Regions from separate parts of the Homo sapiens genome. Here region 2 is linked to region 1. Evidence: promoter capture Hi-C in human tissues and cell types (Jung and others, 2019). All regions are on one chromosome and are shown on one strand. Each heading gives the region's core, a stretch centred on a gene start or on the middle of the fragment in contact. The rest is flanking DNA. Distances are from core to core; before and after follow the strand shown. Region 1 holds the start of LMTK2 (lemur tyrosine kinase 2). Region 2 overlaps SLC25A13 (solute carrier family 25 member 13).

Region 1 (4,267 bases), core at 652-3,151:
GCAGTACACAGTGTGGGTGTCCCTGGCTTCTCTGAACTCAAAGTGAGAAGCTTCCTGATAGAAGTAGAAGTATAGGCTAGGCGCGGTGGCTCATGCCTGTAACCCCAGCACTTTGGGAGGCCGGAGTGGGCAGATCACGAGGTCAAGAGATCGAGACCATCCTGGCCAACATGGTGAAATCCTGTCTCTACTGAAAATACAAAAATTAGCCAGGTGTGGTGGCGGGCACCTGTAGTCCCAGCTACTCAGGAGGCTGAGGCAGGAGAATCGCTTGAACCCAGGAGGCAGAGGTTGCAGTGAGCTGAGATCGCACCACTGCATTCTAGCCTGGTGACAGAGACAGACTCTGTCTCAAAGAAAAAAAAAAAAGAAGTAGAAGTACAACAGGGTGATTGTGTCTCTTTCCTAGACCTTTGCCTTCCTTACCAATTCTGCATATAATCAGCAGAAAGCCGTGAACTTTTTTTTTTTTAAGACAGAGTCTCGCTGTGTCGCCCAGGCTGGAGTGCAGCGGTGTGATCTCAGCTCACCGCAACCTCCGCCTCCTGGGTTCGAGCAATTTTCCTGCCTCAGCCTCCCAAGCAGCTGGGATTACAGGCATGCGTCACCGTGTCTGGCTAATACTTTTTGTATTTTTAGTAGAGATGGGGTATGACCATGTTGGCCAGGCTGGTCTTGAACTCCTGGTCTGAAGTGATTCACCCACCTTGGCCTCCCAAAGTGCTGAGATTACAGGTGTGAGCCACCGTGCCCAGCCAAGCCATGGACTTTTAAATTCAATGTTTCTCGTTCCAGGTATTTGTCTCCTTAGATATTTATTGGCTTGCCTCAATCATCCAACAAATATTCCCTGGGCATCATCTGTGTGTCCAGTGCTGTGTTAACATCATCGACAGCTGGCATTTAGGATGGACATTTGGGGAGTTTGGAGAATTGGGGAGGTTACACTGTTGCCAGGTGGCAAAGTCTCATCTGATAAGATTGAAATCAGCTCCTCTCATGCACACACTGAACCATAGCGCCTCTCCAGAAAAGCTTAGCATTTTCCCAACCCCCATGCCTCTGACCACTATATTACTTGTGTCTGGAGAGTGCTTTCTCTATCCTCTCTGCAGGACTGTGTTCTCACCTCACCTCTTGGTGGGGAGAAGGCCACCCCTGGGAGCTGCTCTGCCCTGGTACCTGGGACCAGGGCCATGCACCATTGCTTTAGAGAACACCTGCTCCGACCCAGGTCCTGCACCAGGGATTTCCCACCAGCTGAATCAGACACAGTTGCTGTCCTCAGGGAGCTTACAGTCACGGGTCAATAGGATACTGCAGCTAGGATAGCAGTCCACACAGGGCCAGGGCGGGGCACTAAGGAGATGACAGTCATTTCTCCTAGAGAGTCATAGATGAAGTCATATGTCAGGTGAGTCTCGACAGATGAAAGGAAGAGTGTCTGCCAGGTGGACAAGAGGCAACAGCTTGAGCTCAGGAGGTGAGTCAGTGGGTGATGCCGAGAGAGGCATTCTCTTGATCAATTCAAGTGAAAAGCCCAAAGCTGTTTGATGGCTGAGAGGATGTGTAGGTCAACTTAAGGAGAAGAGCCTAAAACAGCTCTGACAAGTAAAAAAAAAAAAAAGGCAGAAGACAAGACAGGCCTATTTTTGCATGTTATAAAACACCGAGAAAAAAATATCAGGATGATTGTCATGGTCTTCTTTACATTTTCCTGTATTTTTCAATTTAAAATAATTGTTGGTGTTACCTGCTGCCCACGCACTCCTCCGTCTGCAGGGGGCGCACCGGCCGCCACCGCTCACTCCTTCAGGATGATGGGCGGGGCCTCCTGGGCCGGTGTGGACTGACGAGTGGCTGGCCGCCCTGTCCATCACGACATCCCGCCCCCGCGCTACGTCACATGACGCAGCCCATCATGGCGGCGGGAGCGCGGCTTCCCAGGCCCGCCGCTCCGCAGGGCTGCTGGCGTTGCTGCTGTTGAGAGGCGGCGGCGGCGGCGCAGGCGGGCGGGAAGGATGGTGTTTCTGCGACTGGAGCGGCAGGTGCGGACCGGGAGCCGGACCGAGGTTTGGCAGAAGCAACGTGTGCTCGGGAGCAACCGGCGCGGGTGCCACTGAGGCAGCGGAGGGAGGCAGGATCGACTGACGGGCGAACGGACGGACGGACGGAAGGCGACTCGAGGGCCGGCCCCGGAGCCGCGCCGTGGGCGAGATGCCGGGGCCGCCGGCGTTGCGGCGGAGGCTGCTGCTGCTGCTGCTGGTCCTCCTGATCGCCGGCAGTGCTGGGGCCGCGCCACTTCCGCAAACAGGTGCAGGTGAGCGGGCCCGCGGCGGGGACGGGGCTGCGGGGTCTTCGGCGTGGAGGGGAGGGGGCGGCAGGGCCGGGCCGGCCTCGGCGCCGAGGAATCGGAGGGCCTGCCGGGGGCGGGAAGCCCAGGGAGGCGAGTGATTAGGGAGATTTCTGCCGCAGGGGCGTGGGATTTGGGGGGGCGGGAGCGAGGCGACGTCGTTGGGGCTGGGGAGGGCGGCGGGCGAGGTAGCAGCCACCGACCCCTCCCGGGATAGGCTGCGGTGCCGGCCCTGGACCTGTTGCCTTAAGATCCTCAGCTTATATCGCTTCCTGGCAGTTCAGCTTCCCTTTCCAGATGTCACCTGCCTCTTGTGCTTTTTTTTCGCATCTCATAAGAACCGTTTCTTAGCCCTAATCATACTTAAATGCAAATGACTTGGCGAGCTGTGCGGAGTTTGTTTTCGCTCCTTGCAACTTATTCTGAAGTTGTAAATTGATTTTAGACGCTGTGCTTTTTATTCGGAATGTATCTCCGGGGATGAGAAGGAAACAACTATAAATATTTCTATTTTAGGAAGCCAGTGATTAGAGTAGCAGGCGTTGAATAACTATTGACAAACTGGCTTAAGGGTGATGGAAGTTTCTATTTTAGCTAACGTCAGTGTATGATTTTCTTTTCTCCCCCCCCGCCCATTTTCTCAACATCGTTTTTATTTGGGGTTTATTTTCCTAAATAAAACTTCAACCCAAGAAAACATCCCAAGTTGGGTCATTTTTCTAAAAAGGAAAAAAAAATCTAGGCTAACTTGGCGTTATTGACTGCCGCCATTACCTTTGAAATGGGGAAAGATTGAAATTTCATACATTCATAGAATGTTAGAGTTAGAAGAGACCTTAAAGAAAATTTAGACCAATTTCTTCTTTACGTAGTAGGAGATACTGGGCATGTTGGGTCAAATGACCTACCCAGGGTGACACAGCTTCGTTGTAGGCAGAGCCCCAAAGCCAGGTCTTAGATACCCCTAGTTGTATGATTTTTTTTAAGTCTTGTAACTGTTTTGGAATACTCTCGAGGTCAAGAGTTATTTTGGAATAATGTTAATTGGGTACAGAATGTGGATGTACTGTCTCCAGTAAAGACATATTTTTCAAACAAATCTACGATGAAAGCTACATGTAATTGCTTCCAGAGCTACATCAGGGTTTGTCATTGAGTGCCCTTTAGTTGAACGTTAAATGTCCTCATTGTACCGTATAATGTAGCACTAAATTTCTGTTACTGCCTTAGATCAAATACTTGTGAGGTGAATTCTGTTTTCTGATCCGATAGATAAGAAGAGTAAATGTTATCAGATGTGTATAGGCAACCCCGGAAAGAGTCACAGGAAATGCCTGGGAAATAATGAAAGATTATGTGGAAGGATGGTGATGTTGATATTTAAAGATATTGATATTGAAAGTTAGCACTAGTATAGTGTAGTAGGTAAAGAGTATTTATATGATGGGGATTCAAGAAATTTCCAGATGACTTTACACTTAATTGGATTTTTATATATTTTGAAGTATCGATTCTTTATAGGAACCTATGTCTGCCTGCACACTTTTTTTTTTTTTTTTTTTTTGAGACGGAGTCTTGCTCTGTCACCCAGGCTGGAGTGCATCATCGGTGCGATATCAGCTGACTGCAACCCCCCCCTTCCGAGTTCAAGCAGTTCTCTGCCTCAGCCTCCTGTGTAGCTGGGACTACAGGCCCCTGCCACCATGTCCGGCTAATTTTTGTATTTTTAGTAGAGACGGGTTTCATCATCTTGGCCAGGCCGGTCTTGAACTCCTGACCTCGTGATTCACCCGCCTCAGCCTCCCAAAGTGCTGGGATTACAGGCGTGAGCCACCGCGCCTGGCCACCTGTACACTTCTTACACGGTTTTTATTCCATTCTTTTACAATTTTATGGTGTCATGAATTATAAAAT
Region 2 (4,267 bases), core at 707-3,206, 1.9 Mb before region 1:
CTGGACCTCTGTGGTCTACCATGCACACATAAAAAGTTGCTTTTCAGAATTAAAAACCTGACTCCCTCCCCCTCCATGGAAATCTCCAATGACCCTTCATCATACAGACCCGTCTCTGAAGCAAGGCATACAAGCCCCCAGAGGAACTAGTCTTAGCCTCATCTCCTATCACCCATGCCCACCCCTGCCAGACCTGCCACACACCTGGGCTTTTGCCCACATCGTTACTTCCACCTAGTGTAGACTGCTGCCCCTTTCTCCAGCTCCTGAAATCCTGCCACTTCCTTTAAGCTTAGCTCAAATGGTACCACTTAGGCAAATATAACCAGGCCTTATAACTGGAAATAACTGATGTCCCTTCCGGTGGCCCCCTGTCTGAATATCAATTATAAAACTTGTCTTATTTGATCTTACATCATAATCAGTTATTCACATTCCTGCCTTTACACCTACCTTACCAAGGAAAAGACAGTATAACCTTTTGAAGTCCTGTAAGCATCTACTTACATTTATACATGCAGCTCAGCAGAATGCTTTAGATGTATAGTAGGTGCTCAATAAATGACAGGCATTCTCATCAGTGAAAAGTATTCTGTAAAACCAACTGAATGAACAAATCGTGAGCTATTGAACAATGGGAGGTTCTCTATATGAGTGCTTCCAATTAAGGAAGAAGAAATCAACTGTTAAACACCCTGTAGTGAAAAATGACCACAGTGCGTATTCAATTGAAAGTAAATGAACAGTCTCCTTTGAATTACCAGACCCATTGCTAAAGCTAGCTAAGCCAAGACTACTCTCAACAATAGTAGAAGGTATGTTCAGCGATTTACCATTTTCCCTAGTTTATAACTCAACATCTTAGAGATCCTCAGACAATTATACCAAAAATGGCACCGCTTTCTCTGGCAACCCCATCTCCTCAGAAAGCAGGAAGCCACAATGCTAAGACCAGCCTGTCCAGAATTCCAGATTGGGAATGGATGCCAAGGTGGGGGCTGGTGCTCACATAGCAGGACAGGGGACATACCTGTGATTAGGACAGTGTTACAACACATCCTGTGCCCACGCTTCCATGATTAAACATCTATGAGCAGGGACCCCTCAAGTTGGAGTAAGAAAGTTATTTTAAGTCTGATGATGAACAACCTGAGAATACATTTCCAACAGCTCTTAAAGATTGGGGGCATTATAAGTTCCACAGAAGACAAAATGCTAGATCTATGTAGTTCTCTAAATAGCAGGACAGAGTGAAAACACGCAGTTAGGTGGCTCTCCAACTTTAAAAGCAGCATTCTGAAGACGTGGGTTGCCTTCTGAAGATCATCTGTTTATGTCGTGACTGTTTCTCCTTCCGGGTGAAGAAATGAAACCATGACCTCAACCAGTATGACAACCATGCAATAGCACTTAGCAAGCATGTATTATGCAGCAGGCACTGCTGTAAAGCATTTTACAGGAATTAATTCATGGAATGCTTACTGCAAGCCTATAAGGTAGGTACTATTATTAACCTCACTATAGCAGTTGAGCAAACTAAAGTCTCACTGACAGGAAGCAGTAAAGCTGGAATTCAAGCCTCAGCATTTCTACTCCCCAGCCCTCTATCTACCCATGCTCCTAATACTTCACTCAACTGCATGGGGAACCTCAGACAAAGCTACTGTCAGGAATTTGATTAAAAAATAAATTTGACACTAAGAAATCTTAACAGCTGTGGAAAGATAAAAACTCAATTTGCATTTAATGCTCTAGATTTTACTGTTGCCTATTTTTGTGGAAAAATAATAAAATTCCCTAAAGTTTTCCATTAAGGCAAAGGGCTTCTGTACACCCAGAGCATCAGGATTGTTTTACCAATAGTAGCAGAGACCAAGGAGGAGAGAAACCAAATCTAAAAGGCCTTCTCCTGGCCTCACTCCCTTTTTGCTCTCTTTCCCATAGCCCCAAGAGACAAAGGAGGAAAAAATTAAATCAGGAGGCCAGTGGGAGCTAACACATAGGTTACTCCGTAAATATGAAAGAAATGTGTGGTCTTTGAAATAAATGACTAGGCTCACTACTCATGGCAGAATGACTTAAAATCAAAGCTCCTGGTTTGCACCTCAAAAGCTATTTAATGAAAATCTGAATGTATACTATGGGTTGTCAAGAGACTGACAGCTCCTAGATCTCAACTCAGAAGGGATAAAACAGAGACAGAGAGCTTTTAGTATGCATGAAATATAGCATATACAAAATAGTATTTATTTCTAAAATGAAGGGGATCAGAAGTAAACGAGTCATCTGTGCAGAGGAGGGGAGAACAATATGGGCAGTAATCATTACATTCACATATTTAAAAGTTAAAAGACTATCAAGTAAAAAAAATATTAGGCTGCCCCTCTATTTCTTTTGAAAAAATGGAGAGATGCTATAGGGGTCAGAGTTTAGCACAGTACACAGAAGAAGTCTTTAACCTATAGAACTATTCAGCAGTAAAATGGGCTACCTTGAAAAGTAGCAGGTTCCCTGACACCAGAAATACGTGTTCAACCATAGGCTGAGGAACACATGTCAAGAATTTAACCTTATCTTTAATAGAGGGAGTTATGGAAGCCATACATTATGATGACAATAAGAAATCTGGAACAGGCATGGGTAGAGCGTAAACAGAAGTCATGACACTGCCACCCGGGAGAGCTCAGGTGATTGTTTGCATCTTAGAGCCTCAGATTTTCTTCTACAGAATAGGCACAACACCACCTACTGTGCAGGGTTGTAAAAACCAGAGGTCATGAATGACAGGCATTTAAAAAACAGTGGCTTTGATTTTTGTCCAGGTGAAAGGTTTAAAAACCTCTAAAGTCTCTTGCAATATGAAACAGTGGTTCTGCTCAATCATTCTGAACTAGCCACAGGAACGGAAAAATGAACATCAGCCAGGATGGAGGATAACAAAAGCTGAATGCTTCAACACTCACTACAGACCAGGGGCTATGCCAAGAACTTCAAAGACAGCATTTCACTTAAGCCTCACAATACTTCTGTGAAGTAATGATTATTATCTTCATTTTACACAGAGGCACCTGAAGTTCAGAGAGGTCAGGTAACTAGCCTAAAGTCACACAACTAAAAAGTGGAAGAGTTAAGATCCAAAGCAAGGGATGTCAGCTTTTAAAACTGAGATTCTTAACTACTAACTTATGCTGCCTCAGGCAAAATCATAAATAAGGGGGTCATAACTAGATTTGGACAGGTAGGAAAAGAGACTTTAAGAAAATTTTGATGATGATTTGAATATATAAATGAAGTAAGATATATCTCAAAAATCCACATTTTGAATGATGGGGAAGATACTCTACCACAAAGGAAAATACTTAAGGGGAAAGAGATGAGGTGGTTGACCATGATGAAAAACCTGGAATGAAGTGAGTTTCAGTTATAAACAAAAAGTTAAGAGGCACACAAAAGAAAGCTGAAGGTACAGGTAGAAATACAGATCTGGGAAATTCAGATAACAGGATTTTAGAGAAAACATCACAAGGAGAACGTTTACTAAGTTATTAAGTGCATGCTATGTCCCAGGGACTGTTGTGTTTTCCCTGCTTCATCTCTTTGAATCCTCTCCACAACCGAGGTGGTCCTACCATCACCTCTGTTCTGAAGATGGAAAAATGAGGTAAGAATGAGCCAAGGGTGACACGGGCAAGGATGAAACTGAATATGCATCCAGGCAGTCGGCTTCTGGAGCCATGATGTTAGCCTACACAGACTGCCTGTTCCTTTTAGAGGGGACCTACCAAAAACCAGATGAAGAAAAAGATGATTGTAGAAATGGGTGAGATCATCCCACAGTGCATACAAAGAGCAGGCAGACAACAAAAATCAAACTGATACCTAAATAAGTGAATAAAGAAAATAAGACACAGGGCCTGAAACCTTGTAGCAAATCCAGAGAGCTGAGAAAATGAAGTGTCTCTCTAAAGAGAGCTCTTAACAGTACCAGGCAATGGGTGCTTACTAAATGCTGCTGCCGAAGACAGTTACCAACTGAAGACAAATGGCCCTTCCTATCACCTAAGGCCAGAAGGTCCAAGAGCAGGAGTTCTGCAGCTATCTCTAAGGCAGTTCCACTCAAGTACATGAAAGGAGGCCCAATTTCTCTTTAATATGTGCCAGTGAACTATTTTCTGTTCCCTCTATTCTGGTGCATGATGATTAATGCAACAGGCTTTTATTGCAGCAGTTTCCAACTACTTCAACACACCCATTCAGACTGCTGTAG

What was found. Contacts are between HindIII fragments. The study calls those that stand out against the background at their distance.
Region 2: a contact is called between a fragment that was not itself captured here and the fragment with the promoter of LMTK2 in region 1, in 1 of the 25 tissues and cell types used here (lymphoblastoid cells).

Annotation. Positions count from the first base shown.
Region 1 is chr7:98,104,961-98,109,227 of GRCh38, forward strand. LMTK2 (lemur tyrosine kinase 2) reads left to right here and starts at 1,902. Exons shown (of 14, transcript NM_014916.4): 1 at 1,902-2,320. The coding sequence starts at 2,218. The HindIII fragment of the contact is 4,738 bases long and covers 543-4,267 here.
Region 2 is chr7:96,195,501-96,199,767 of GRCh38, forward strand. All of the region lies in intron 5 of SLC25A13 (solute carrier family 25 member 13), which reads right to left. Among named protein-coding and RNA genes, the nearest start is that of MIR591, 22 kb to the right of the region's middle. The HindIII fragment of the contact is 3,805 bases long and covers 55-3,859 here.